Linked DNA regions of Homo sapiens: all the other regions are linked to region 3. The links are contacts of gene promoters, found by promoter capture Hi-C in blood cells and fetal thymus (Javierre and others, 2016). All regions are on one chromosome and are shown on one strand. Each heading gives the region's core, a stretch centred on a gene start or on the middle of the fragment in contact. The rest is flanking DNA. Distances are from core to core; before and after follow the strand shown. Region 1 overlaps DOCK8 (dedicator of cytokinesis 8). Region 2 overlaps DOCK8 (dedicator of cytokinesis 8). Region 3 holds the start of DOCK8 (dedicator of cytokinesis 8). Region 4 overlaps DOCK8 (dedicator of cytokinesis 8). Region 5 overlaps DOCK8 (dedicator of cytokinesis 8).

Region 1 (2,700 bases), core at 64-2,563, 210 kb before region 3:
TGGACCTACTCTAATGAATGACTTCTCAATGGAAACATGTAAGAACTCATTTTTCAGGGTAATTAAAAACTCATTATTACCTAGACAGCTTGGGAATTTGTGGAAATAATCACATAGAAGATAAAATTAGTATGGTACAAAGTTCACAAAGCTATATTTTTCTACAGCAGGGATGGCAAATTCATGGTACAAATGACTTTCCTTAACAAATTTAAGTCCAAAGAAGACATCATTTGTCAAATTTAGCACTCTTTTTACCTAGCCTAGTCATAATCATAGCTCCCATATCAGACAGTGACCATCATTCAACTGGAGTTGACCCATCAGAAAAAATTCTACTTACCACTACTGTTCTAGATACTAAACGATAAACCCAACATCCATATTATAAACTTGGTACATACTCACACAGATTTAACCAAGAGGGTCAGCTGGCCAAACACCTAACCCTCTCCAAGTAAGCCCTAAGTCAAAGAAGCCAGAAGAATGTTTGGTATCTCTGGAATTTATAAGGTAGACACTGTTGTAAATAGTAAACTTCTCAACTTCATTTTTTTAAAAAAGGTACTATGGGATCACATTTATGTCTTTCACAATTTTGCATAAAGAAGTCCTTATTCTAGTAAACATATTCATGGCCAACAAATCAGATTGGGTGTTTGTTTTCCTCACCTGGATAATGTTTTCCTGCATATCCAGGATGATTAAATGTGCTTCTGTAGCCAGATTGCCACTGATCAAGGCTTCTTGATCTAACTCGGCCTTTGTTCTAGGAAACAACAAGAGGTCAAATTAAAGCGCATGTCAAACCTGGCCAGGTTCCCATGATGGCAATCTATACACCAAGGTGTAAAGAAATCTCCAAAATAGTCAACCTTGAAATGAAAACAGAGCAACTGGCCCTGAGTAACTACAGTGCAGGTGCCTTCTGTGATTCATGTCTTGTCGAAACAACTGTCTAGGTAAGGTTTCCTGGTCATCCTCATCCCCACTATTATTAATAATGATGAGGACAATTATAAAAATAACACTATGGGTAGAGAAGCAGTTATTAGTTGCTACTAGCAATTAAGCTCCCCTCTCAGATTGTTGCCTAAAGCCTCAGGGCCATGGCTGTATTTCACGCATGAAAACCATTGCTAGATCTGAGTAAGGGGAAGCCCCTGCAACATGCGAGAGAGAGTGAGACTGGATGTGATGTGAACTTGGCAGTGATGCGGCTGGGTTAGGAAAGGGTGGAGCTTCAGAGCCAAGTCAGGGGAGAGTCAGCCTCTTAACTTCCCAAAGATCACCTTGAGGTTGCTCAGCCAAGTGCGTGGGGTCTTTCGTCCTTTTCCATTGGGAAACAAGACTGTATTCCTGTAGGGCAGGTGATCTAATATCCTGCCGGACATTACTGGTCATTGCCCACTAGGGAATGGGAAATTGCCTGGTGCTCGCTCCTCTATTAGGTTTCACTTTAAGGAATCAGAATGGTTTTTTTTGCTAGCCCATCCATTCTTATGAAATCTAAGTGAAGCTGTAAAGGGATATTTTGTATCATCATCCAAATCTAGTTGCAAGGAAAGGGAGGTATGAAGAATTGACTTTACCAAGATGCCTCAGTAGCCAAGATGTTACCATGGGGTTGGGGTATCATTATATCAGCTCATATGTCCTGGGCCAGGGTTACCACTTACCTGTTCTTGCGTCCCATTAACCTAATAATGGGGGCACTGCAGCTGCTTACATACCACTGAGGACTCAAAAAATAAGTACTTCTGTGTGTTTTACTTGTTTTCATGTTTAGGATAGGCTCTCTGGTCCCAAGCCACTTGACACTTTTTCTCATTTTCCAAGTGATAATATATGTGTAAAATAAATGAAATCTAAAAGTTTTTTTTTTTTTTTTTCCTTAGAGACAGGGTCTTGCTCTATCACCCAGGCTAGAGTGCAGTGGCACTATCATAGCTCACTGAAGCCTCGAACTCCTGGGCTCAAGTGATGCTCTGCCTTAGCCTCCTGAGTATCTGGGACCACAGGCATGAGCCATCAAATTTTTATATCGTGATAAAGTACACATAACATCAAATTTACCATTTTAACCTCATCATCCTTTTTTTTTTTTTTTTTTTTGAGACGGAGTCTCCCTCTGTCGCCCAGGCTGGAGTGCAGAGTGCAGTGGCGCAATCTTGGCTCACCGCAAGCTCCACTTCCCGGGTTCACGCCATTCTCCTGCTTCAGCCTCCCGAGTAGCTGGGACTACAGGCGCCCGCCACCGCGCCCGGCTACTTTTTTGTATTTTTAGTAGAGACGGGGTTTCGCCGCGTTAGCCAGGATGGTCTCGATCTCCTGACCTCGTGATCCACTTACCTCGGCCTCCCAAAGTGCTGGGATTACAGGTGTGAGCCACTGTGCCCGGCCCCTTATCATCCTTTTTAATTAATTGACTGCTAGTTTAGTTTTAAATTTAGAGCAATGCTGTCTAGTAGAAACAATGGGGGCCACATATGTCATTTTATATATTGTGGTAACCACATTAAAAAAGTAAAGAAAAAGTGAAATTATTTTTAATATATTTTGTTTATCCTAAAAGATAAAAAATACTGTCTCCATGTAAGCAATATAAAAATTACTAGTGAAATATTTTATTCTTTTATTCACAATAAGCCTTCAAAATCTGGTGCGTATTTTTCACTTATCTTGATTTATTATCTCAAT
Region 2 (2,700 bases), core at 116-2,615, 230 kb before region 3:
AATTCATCTGTGTTTGTTCACCAACTTGATTATGCCTGTTATACTTGTTATTTTAATGACCCAATCTAATTAGATAATGGAGAAACTGATGAACCATGGGTGTGGAAAGAAAAAGATTTCTTTCTATGAAAACCAAGCCAAATGGTTGGACAAGATATTATGAAAGTGAGTTGCTATAAAAATTCCTGTCATATTAGGTGTGCACAAGACTGCTGTCAAAGTCTCGGGGAGAAAAACATCATAAACATCCAGAAGGCTTCTGCTCTCAAATTGTTTAACAAGGATCTTTAAGCTCTCACTCTGCTTACACAAAGCAAAACTGAAAATCATGGACAAAGCACTACGGGTGTGGTTTATAAAAGAAAATGCTGAATTGTGATCAGCAAACCCACAGTCACAGAGAAGTCTGTGGCCCTGCATAAAAAGGACGACAAATAAGTGTATATATATGTGTTTTAAAGAATAATAAGTTGTTTATGGTGTGTAGAATTTTGAACAATTCTGTGGTTTGAGAGACCTTCTTGACCAGTCCTTTTATTAATAAAATGAGTATAATCTTGTACTGTACTTAGAGGTCTTTCCTGCTAATGCATAGATGAAGAAACTGAAGGTACGTAGCTTGTTTAAAATCACAGGAGGAAGCTAGGACTAGAAGCTAGTCAGTGAACTTGTCTACCTTACACGGCCCTTTCCCACAGCACACCACCGCCTCACTGGGGCTGCCCACGTGCAGGTCCCGTCTCCAATAATTAACAGCACGACTATGCTTGAATCACCTCTAAGCTTTGAAATATAGAAAAATTTTATATAAAATATTTAAAAGGTAAATATATCTGTTGTACAAGTTTATAATTGAAATATATATTAAATATTATAATTAAATACATAAACACACTTATACTAAAGATATAACTTTAAAATATTAAATATTTAATATACAATAGTGCTATAAAATATGTAGCTGCCTAAATGGGATTTTCTGGCACTATGAGAGTGAAAGGACAACCATATAATCATATTTCAAGTGCATCCCTCCTTGTTTTCAGTCCAATCCACTGTGAAAGAGGTTTGTGGGTCCTCCTGGGAGGCCACCCAGCCCACTCATCCAGTGGTGGCCAATCCCTTGGGTGCATTACCTCCTCCTTCTGGATGACGCTGATCCTGGTCTTGATGTAGGGGAAGGCGTGCATAGTGGTCAGGACTGTGTTCCTTCTGTACTGCTCATGCAGCTCTCCCCGAGGCCGCCCCTCCAGGGTGAACGGGGTGGTGTACATGAACCTCCGGAGGTTGAAATTCTTCTCAAAGTATGTGACCCTGTCTTTCATCTCATACTCATCAAAGTAGGGCTCCACAAAAGTGATCTGTATGTAGGCCTAAGGGGGAAAAGGCACGGAGGGAGAAGATGAGCTATTCTGCAAACGGCCATCCCTGACGCAATGGAGGGGCATGCAGGAACACGGCGTGCCGGCACCGCCCTGCCCAGTGCAGAAAAGCTACAGATGCAGGGGAGAATGTGGCCAGCAGAAGTTCCTCCTCTCCACCCCCAAGGACAGAAGGGGCTGCAAGGAGGGAGAGGGGAATGTGCCTGTGGGGAGAGTGAGGGCCACCGGCCGCACCTTCCTAGCAGAGCAAACTGATCCACAGTGGAAGCCTTGGTATGAGAGTTTGCAAACTGCTATTCCAAAGAGACAAACTTTCCTTTACAGAATGACAATGACTACCTCACAGTTATGAGGAAGCATGAATGGCCGAACTAAAGAAAACTAACAATATCAAGTGCTGGCAAGGATGGAGATCAGCTAGAGCTGTCATACACAGAGGGTGGGAATGCAAAATGCACAGCTACTTTGCAGAAGAAGCTGGCGGTCTCTTATGCAGTTAAACTGCACTACCATTGGACCCAGCAACCCCACTCCTATGTGTGTACAGGAGAGAAATGAAAGCTTATGTCCATACAAAAACCTGTACACAAATGTCTCCAGCAACTTTATTCATAACAAAGACTAGAAACAACCCAAATGTCACTCCAGTGGGGAATTAACAAGCAAATGGTGAGGTAGTCACACAACAGAATACTACTCAGCAACGGAAAGGAAGGAACTATTGCAACATGGACTACCAATGGGCACGGGAAGTATTTTGGAGTGGTGGATCTGTTCTATATCTTGGTTATGAAGGTAGTCACATGTGTTTGTCAAAACTCATAGAACTAAACACCAAAACTGAATTTTACTGCCTAGGCCTCATTTAAACACACACTCACATCACCTCCACCCTCAAACACAGAGCGAATAAGTACTCATTAAAGACGACAATCTCTTAGGAAAAAAAGTGACCATGAGTTCAGATGCTGGGACACTCACCCACTGAAAGGGATGAGTGGGGTCACTGACCTCAGACTGTAAATCACGACTTAGTATAATGAAATCTGGTTGTAACTCTGGGTTCAGACTCTCATTCCAAACTCTCACAACCTACCCTGGGAATTTTAAAAGAGGGGAAAAGGGCACCTTGGCTGAGGGAGGTCACATTTTACACAGCTTGTGCTATGTACAGATCACTGTGGGCACACGGCCAACTCCATCTCCCAGACATGTGTGTCTGAAGATTAGTTAAACTCTTACCACAGCCACTGCTTTCAAGCCGAGGCTAGGGAATGTGTCTTAAGTGAGAAAGCATTCTGAAAAATGTAGAAAAACA
Region 3 (2,700 bases), core at 1-2,500:
GGAAATAAAATCGTCAATAAAGCTCGATATGCCCTCTAGAAGACCTTATCGCCTTGTTTTTCTAGGCTTTTAATTCCTTGTTCAAACCTCTTCACACACTAACAGCACAAAGATGAACCTACGGTGGAATCCACCTTTCACAGGCTCAGCTAAGTGAAGATTAACAAATCGGACAGCCCTGTGGGCAATAGAATAAGTTGACACTTTAGAATGAGTTTCCTATTATCTTTTAACTAGACAGTCTAGCTTTCTCAGGGCAAGACAAAAATGTCCCAATTACTTGTCAGCAGTTTTTAGTGGAGGAAAAACTGCAGTTAAAGCACCTTTACTGAGAACTTTGAGCAGTAAATGTGCTTACATATTTAGTTTGTGCAACTTTGATTAGGAATTGGATGGTGAGTTGGGATCCCCCAGTCCTTAGCTTTTTGCTGGAGTTCTGTAAATCTCAAAATGTCAGCCACAGGCCATTTCTTTTGGTTTATTTAAGTGTAGATTTTTTAAAAAATCACTTTTTCCACTTCATGGCTCCTTTGGACCAGGGTATAAAAATAGCGATGCCACCAGGAGCCAAGCTCTTTCTGGAATAATGAAGCAGGCGAGGACGGAGCCTTGCTCAGGACGACAGAAGGCTTGCAGCCTGCCTCAAACGCAACTCTAATTTCAGCCACTTCACTTCTTCCCCCCGCGCTCAGACTTGCCTCAAAGGAAGGAGCCGTTTATGAGACACTCCGTGGCGCGCCCAACACGGTTACCCAGGCGCCTATCACCCTTCTGGGACCCGGCCACCTGTAAGAACCTGGAGGGCGGAGCGGGCGAGGTTGTTCGGGGAAGGGATCCCCGGCGGCTGAGGACATCCAGGAGCACCGAGATTCTTGGGGAGGACCTCGCCGGGCCCAGCGCAGGAGCCGCCGCGCGTCCAGCGGCTCCACCGCCGCAGCCTCGGGAACCGGGCGCCCCAGGTCTCAGGCGCGCCCCGCCGCGGACGCGAATGGACTCGTCCGGCCTCGGCCCCTGCAGCGAAGCTCCGCTTCACACCAGCGCTGGGCTGTCCGGCCGCAACCTGCGCGCCGCGGGGGGCGTCTTACCTGTTGATCTTGAGCGCGAACGCGCGGCGCTCTGCGCTCGGCAGAGTGGCCATGGCCCGCCGGCGGTTCGGTGGCTTCTAGGGTCGCGGGGTGCGGAAAGCGGGGGCCTGGCGCGCCGCAGAGTAGCCGCGGAACATGCCCAGCCAAGCGCAAACCTCGTCTGTCGGTCGGCGCTGGAAACTTCCGCATTTCCACCTTCTAAGCCGAAATCACCCCGGGGGAGGGTCCGAGCTCGGAGCAGCGACGGCCGGCTCCGCCACCCGGCCTGGCGCGCAGGCAGCGGCGGGCGAGGAGGGCGTGGGCCCAGCGCGGAACTGGCCTCCCGATACTGGGGCAGACGGCGCGCTCTGCCCGGGGCCGCCGACCTCCGGCCGAAGGGAGCGCGGGCGGACGACAGGCGACCACTGCGCGCAGGCCGGAAGCTCCATCTGCCCGAAGCTGCGAGGCTGCCAGGGAATGTAGGCAAGTCGGGGGAGCCCCACAAAGCTGGCGAGGTCGGGAATCACCCCAGGGATTCGTAAGGCTAGGTGTTATTAAGGGTTGACACCATTCTCGAAGAAGGCAGCCAAAAAAAAAGACAAAAAAGTTAGTGGAATCTATCAGGATTCAAATCAACTTTTGCAAGCAATATGCCCATCATCCTTCCTGAGACACTAAATAAATATAATGGATTCATCCAAGGAATAAACATTATGAGTTCTCAAAAAATGTTTTCGTCACAACCTGGCGTGAATGCTTTTCTCCGGAGAAACACTGAAGGCGGCGTTCTTGCGATTCAAGGGTACGCTGCGTCCAGGTTTATTTCAGTTTCAGACTGAGGTCTGCTAAGAAGCCCGGCCTCAAACTCAAGATAAAAACAGAAAAGTCCCAGTGTTGACGGGAGTGGAGGAGCCCGTGTTCGCTTCAAGGTGCCGGCGTGCTGCTCTAACCTGTGCTATATATACTCGAGCACTCTCCATATAATGCCTCCATTTACCAACTTGCTCTTAAAAAATACCAAAGCAGGCCGGGCGCGGTGGCTCACGCCTGTGATCCCAGCACTTTGGGAGGCCGAGGCGGGCGCATCACGAGGTCAGGAGATCGAGACCATCCTGGCCAACGTGGTGAAACCCCGTCTCTACTAAAATACAAAAAATTAGCCGGGCGTGGTGGCGCACGCCTTAGTCCCAGCTACTTGGGAGGCTGAGGCAGGGGAATCACTTGAACCCGGGAGGCGGAGCTTGCAGTGAACCGAGATCTGCCACTGCACTCCAGCCTGGCGACAGAGCAAGTCTCCGTCTAAAAGAAAAAAAAAAAAACAACCAAAGCGAAGTATTTTTGGTTCAAACCTGCACTATTTAATATGATAGCCACTAGCCACATGTGGCTATTGACCACTCGGCATTATGGTTAGTCTGAATTGCCCACTGCTGGATGTGTAAAATGTACACTGGAATTTAAAGACAGCGCAGAAAACATCGTGTAAAATGTCTTGTTAATGATTTTCATGTTGATTGCATGTTAAATGATACTTTGGATATAAAAAATATATTATTAAAGTTAATTTCACCTGTTTGTTTTCCCCTTTTAAAAATGTGGTTTGCATTTTTAAAAATGTAAAATTACACATGTGGCT
Region 4 (2,700 bases), core at 201-2,700, 190 kb before region 3:
AGGACAGAAAACCAAACACCGCATGTTCTCACTCATAGGTGGGAACATCACACACCGGGGACTGTCATGGGGTGGGGGGAGTGGGGAGGGACAGCATTAGGAGATATACCTAATGTAAATGACGAGTTAATGGGTGCAGCACACCAACATGGCGCATATATACATATGTAACAAACCTGCATGTTGTATACATGTACCCTAGAACTTAAAGTATGATAATAATAAAAAAAGAATCCAGATTTAAAAAATATATACATATATATACATTTTTTTCTTTCAAACAAAATAAGGCTACATCAGAATTCAACGTTATATAGAAAATATTAACCAAAATTTTAAATGACTCAGACTCTTGCACTGTGGCTAAAGTAAGATAATTGTAAATTGCATTTCAAAAGTTTTTCTTGTTCTTAGTCTGTGGTCCCGGCAATGGGTTGTGTTTTGAATTAGGCATTGCAATTTGCTGGCTTAACACAAAGATGATAGACAATTTCTAAATGCTTGAAAAACACTGTGGATTTAACGATGCATAGACACTTGTGGATATACCCAGGTGTCAGAGATCCAAGGGAAACCCAGTGGAAACTGGAGCTGTAGCTCCCTAGGGGTTCAGGTACTGAGATGCGTCCTTCTGGCCCTTGCCCCATGGATGTACAGGTGTTGGCAAGTCTACCAACTGTCTTGGAAGCAAAAGAAAAAAAAAAAGGAAGTGCTGATCAATAGGAAGTATTGTTGAAGCATGACATTTTTCTGAGGTTTTAGCTTACATGATGAAGTTGTGACAGTGTATCTAATGACTTTCCAGGAGAGTAACTGACAACCCAGCAATCAGGGATTACTGTGTTGCCAAAGGAGTTACACTGTTAATTACTCTTTTGGGGGAGAAAGGGTACTGTGTGTGTGCATGTGCACGCGCGTGTGTGCGTGTGTGTGTGTGTGTGTGTGTGTGTTTGAAGAATGTATCTACCTGATTAAACATAATTACATGATTATCTCTGAATATACTCTACCTTGTTGCTAGTAATATAACAGCAACAATTTTACAAGGAATCCAGAACAGAATGTCATGGCTGTTTCCAGCTAGAATGAAAATAGAAAATAGAAACTACGCTATTGTAAATACTAAAGATGTTTCTAGAAATCACTTAAAGTACTGCTATTAAAGGACAACTAAGAAAATGTATGTACATGTTTGTGCATGAAGGCAATTTTCTTTGTGTTCAAACTTTCTTCTCAGTATCTTACTTATTAGCATAAGTGTTCGGTGCACTTTTTGTTGCTGTGGAAATTTATGTTAGTTGTAGGGTAGAACATTCTACTGAGATAATTGGGAGAAATTTAGTTAGAGTTGAGAAGAGAAGATAGAATTGAAGCCATGGAAAGTGAAGTTCTCAAAGGATATACTCAGGCCAGTTTATCTGGAAGGAGGCAGAATTGAGAGCTAAAAGCATGAGATTCCCCACACTATCCTGCCAGGAGACGCAGACATAGAGTCACTTCAGCGGTGTCAGCCTGGGTACATAGCTTGGGACACATGTGACTGTTGCAGTTGCACGAACTCGATGTGCTCCTGTATTTGTTTCATGCAGGAACCTCCTGTTTCCTTCACTAAATTGTAAGCACTTTGAGAGAACTTGAGAAATTCCATTTAGATAAAAATCCATCCATAACATACAGCAATGCTACCATTAATTAGCAAACATTATTCTGGAAACCTCTTTAGCATAGGAGTCATGGGAACAGGTTCCCTGTGCAGGGAGATGGTTTGGTATAGGAGAGTGGGTCCTGGGAAGGGACTGGGAAGACCATGGCTTTAGATTTCGTTCTCTGTTATGGAATAGTGGGCAAGTTCCTGCAATTCTGTATGCCTAATCTAAACACCAGAAGTGTTGAATCTCAACTACTTTGCAATCCTAATCATCTTTGAATCTGAGTCCCTGGATGGTGAGCTCTTGAGGGGCAGCGAATTTTGTCTGTTTTGTGCACTGATATATCTCTGATGTACTCTAACACCTAACTGTGTCTGTCCCATGGAAGGCATTCAATAATTGTTGAACGGAATGAATAATATTTTAGAAGGCATTATCTTTTTCAGTCCAATCAGATAGGCTGTGGGTTTCTGACTCCATGAGCTCACGGAGCATAGGGAGAGAAGGAAAGAAGGGGGTGGTCTACCTCTCTGTCTGTTGACTTCTAGGCTAGATACTGCCACATGTCCCTGAGTAATCAGATAGATAAGAGGTAAAAGGATTCAGAAGCCCTGGATGTGTGGTGTCTCTTGGCCTGAGAAGCACTGTCTGCAAGAAACCTAATCTGGGCATGGGACAGCTGCCTTCTCAGCAGCCATTATTTCCTTCATCAGCTTTGAACCAAGTGACATCTTGTGGTTGCCTCTGCATGCTATCCCCTTTGTTAAAAATGGCTTTGCTCCTAGGGAGTTCACTAATCAAAGCATCCTTGGGAAACCTGCTATAGCAGAACTGGTAAATTCCACTGAAATAGTTGACCAAGAAAAGTCATTTTGTAGTTCTTACCCATCCCTGGTGCCTTTCTACACAAGAAAGGCCTTTCTTGTGCCTTGTGCTTATGGGTACCATATTCTCAAGACAGATGTTTCTACTCCTCAGAACTGGTCAACTACAGTAGAGTTTTTTACCAAGTGTGAGAAGCTAGACTGCAAATTTTATTAAAGAACATCTG
Region 5 (2,700 bases), core at 106-2,605, 130 kb before region 3:
GCTGCAATACTTTTCAGTTTTTCCTGGTCTTGCACTTCAAGGGCAAAAAATACAATATGTGTCCTACTTTCATAAATCACGACTTCATATGTTTTGTAACGAAAAAGGTAGTCGTGTGTCTGAATCTAGAAAGTGAGTGAATTGTGTCCTCTAGTGGCTGAATATTATACTGGAACGGTAGCTTTGCTGTCATAACCTTAGGCAATTGGTTCCCTCCTGAATTTTTTCATTCTTACAAATAGGAGGATTGCTGAGTTTTGGAGCAAGGCATTAGGAATGTGGGGATTGTGTTCCTGATTTATTATCGAGACCAAGTTGCAACTAGCACCAGAAATTCACTTTGTCTTTGTCTCCGTTCCTTGGCTAATTCAAATGACTAGATTTTGCCTGGGCTGCCACTGCCCTTCCTAACTACATGGTTTGTTTATAAAAGCTTCTGTTCCATAAGCGACTGCTTGCTAAGCCTAGTAAAACCAAGTACTGGGCTTCCGCATCATCTGATACTTAGGACAGAGTTTTTTGTTTTTGTTTTTTGAAAGAGTCTCACTCTGTTGCCCAGGCTGGAGGGCAGTGGCATGATCACGGCTCACTGTAGCCTCGACCTTCCTGGCTCAAGCGATCCTCCCACCTCAGCCTCACAAGTAACTGGGACTGCAGGTGTGGACCCCCACCCCTGGCTAATTTTTTTGTTGTTGTTGTAGAGACAGGGTCTTGCTATGTTGCCTAGGCTGGTCTTGAACTCCTGGGCTCAATGGATCCTCCCGCCTCGGCCTCCCAAAGTGCTGGGATTGCAGGTGTGAGCCGCTGTGCCCGGTATGGAGCATTTGACAACTCCATATGGTACAGGAACTCATTAAGGGTTGGTGGAAGCTTCCCTTCCATGAGAAGGAGGGGGACGCTTTGATTTTGAACAAAAGAGAGTGTCAGACCACCAGTGCCCCATCCCAGACCACCTGAATGGGAGTCTTCAGGGTGGGGCTGGACACTTACTCTGATGCACAACCACCCTTCCTTCACCTAGCACTGAGAAGATCCACTCTGAATACAGAGCTAACTGGGCTTAAACTGGGAACCTATTTCCTTGGATGAAATTAAGTCCCTTTCAAGGATACTCCCCATGTCCTGCCCCTCTTCCTAACCACTTCGTTTGCAGTTATTTCTGGTTCATTTCTTTCCTTAGAAGTTCTAGTCACTAAATCATAACTCGCAGACATTCCTTCCGGTCAGGTCCTGCATGCATGCTACGCCATTCCTTTTCCCCCGCAGAAGAGAAGGTGGGTAGTACTCCTTAAGACTCCACTGCGATATGGGAGCACATCCCCGTTAGGCCAGATCAGACTTCTGGTCTGAGAACATTCAGCTGAATAGGAGGAGTCCTGAAAACAGCTAATTATCCATCAGAGAAATCATGTTCCAACTGATATGCTTGTTCTCAGCAAGCACCGTCCTCCACAGCAAGTCTGATAATTGGATAAACAAGACCTCAGAGGCTCTCGGGGGCTGAAGTGAGAGATGAAAACGTACTTTATGTGGCTCTTTTTACTGTAATCACCCATTAAAGGGACGGCAGGGAGCTTAACAGCTCATTACAACCTCATTGCCTGTGATCTCCGCACATACCCCTCTGGCGGCCGCAGGATAGGATGCCCTTGAAGACCTTGCTGGGCCTTGGCCTCAGCCCATGCTGTTTTCATTCTGCCCCCACCAGAAAGCAGCTGGTGTCTCTAGTACCAGCTGTTGGGTCACATGGAAAATAAGCCAGGAGTTGGTGCAAATGTGTTCCTAGGCAAACCACTAGCATTTTCTTAATCTGGACACAGAGCAAGGAACGCCAAGCTTGGATTCGGATAATCCTTTTCATCAGCTCAGTTTTTCCAGCTGTTCTGCTCTGCTTTCAGAATTGCTGTCCTTCTGCTTGTGATTTCTCAGAGTGTCCTGCCTGGCTCTGGTTCAGAGGACCCTGCTCTAGCTCCATGCCTCTAACCCACAGAGGCTGCACATGGCACTGCAGAGGGCCCGAGCCGCTGGTTTGGGAGCCCCTGGTCATTCCTGGGATGAGCACTTCTGGCTCTAGAAGTTGGTCTCTATCGTTAGAGCAAGGATTTATTTTATGAATGCCCAACCCTCACGGACCCACGGGGATACTTCTGGGAGCACTACCCAGTTCTACCAGAACTCATCTACAGCTGTTCCTTAAAGAAACTTGAATAAGGTAGAGACACGGGGCAGCACACACACATTACCGCAATTACTTTTGCACCAACCTAATACACTAGAATGCAACTCGAATGGTGCCCCACGCAGGACACCTGAAGGGGCAGGGCAAAGAAAAGAGGCAGTGAAGAGGTGGGAGGAAGGTGAGGCTGGGGACTGGAAGGCAATGCCAGCCTATCCCAAGCCAACTTTACCTGAGGCACTATGGCAGCTGCTCCTTTAAGACAGGTAAAGATAACTGGAGTTCAACTCAAGTAATATTCAGCTGAAACCCTCATCAATACCAAAATCCTAAAATGTGTGACTCTGGTTACCACTGGCACTCAAGGCCAGAAAACATCTGCTATTAGAACCAGGTAATAGTTCCCTCCACCCAGGGGGGCTCTGCAGTTTATGTTAAGGGCACATTAATTTGAAATCCCAAACCTGGCTTTCTCAGTGTAAGCATTTATTGTTTGGCCCGACAGAGGTGTTAGCTACAAGCTC

Evidence for each region. The method cuts DNA at HindIII sites, captures the fragments that hold promoters and counts their contacts. A CHiCAGO score of 5 or more calls a contact.
Region 1: a contact is called between a fragment that was not itself captured here and the fragment with the promoter of DOCK8 in region 3, in 2 of 17 cell types (neutrophils and monocytes). The highest score is 12.6, in neutrophils.
Region 2: a contact is called between a fragment that was not itself captured here and the fragment with the promoter of DOCK8 in region 3, in 2 of 17 cell types (neutrophils and monocytes). The highest score is 14.4, in neutrophils.
Region 4: a contact is called between a fragment that was not itself captured here and the fragment with the promoter of DOCK8 in region 3, in 1 of 17 cell types (neutrophils). The highest score is 13.7, in neutrophils.
Region 5: a fragment that was not itself captured here is called in contact with the fragment with the promoter of DOCK8 in region 3 in 2 of 17 cell types (neutrophils and total CD8 T cells); the score reaches 14.3 in neutrophils.

The regions. Positions count from the first base shown.
Region 1 is chr9:424,954-427,653 of GRCh38, reverse strand. It overlaps DOCK8 (dedicator of cytokinesis 8), which reads right to left. Exons shown (of 48, transcript NM_203447.4): 34 at 673-769. Among named protein-coding and RNA genes, the nearest start is that of DOCK8-AS2, 44 kb to the left of the region's middle. The HindIII fragment of the contact is 3,245 bases long and covers 1-2,700 here.
Region 2 is chr9:445,043-447,742 of GRCh38, reverse strand. DOCK8 (dedicator of cytokinesis 8) reads right to left here. Exons shown (of 48, transcript NM_203447.4): 44 at 1,137-1,373. Among named protein-coding and RNA genes, the nearest start is that of DOCK8-AS2, 24 kb to the left of the region's middle. The HindIII fragment of the contact is 1,160 bases long and covers 786-1,945 here.
Region 3 is chr9:213,415-216,114 of GRCh38, reverse strand. DOCK8 (dedicator of cytokinesis 8) reads right to left here and starts at 1,250. Exons shown (of 48, transcript NM_203447.4): 1 at 1,086-1,250. The coding sequence starts at 1,138. It overlaps DOCK8-AS1 (DOCK8 antisense RNA 1), which reads left to right and starts at 365. Exons shown (of 1, transcript NR_160804.1): 1 at 365-2,658. RefSeq lists silencers at 776-915, 1,086-1,135, 1,186-1,235, 1,246-1,495. The HindIII fragment of the contact is 3,855 bases long and covers 1-2,700 here.
Region 4 is chr9:407,112-409,811 of GRCh38, reverse strand. The region is part of intron 28 of DOCK8 (dedicator of cytokinesis 8); the gene reads right to left. Among named protein-coding and RNA genes, the nearest start is that of DOCK8-AS2, 62 kb to the left of the region's middle. The HindIII fragment of the contact is 4,838 bases long and covers 1-2,700 here.
Region 5 is chr9:345,338-348,037 of GRCh38, reverse strand. The region is part of intron 14 of DOCK8 (dedicator of cytokinesis 8); the gene reads right to left. Among named protein-coding and RNA genes, the nearest start is that of DOCK8-AS2, 120 kb to the left of the region's middle. The HindIII fragment of the contact is 966 bases long and covers 873-1,838 here.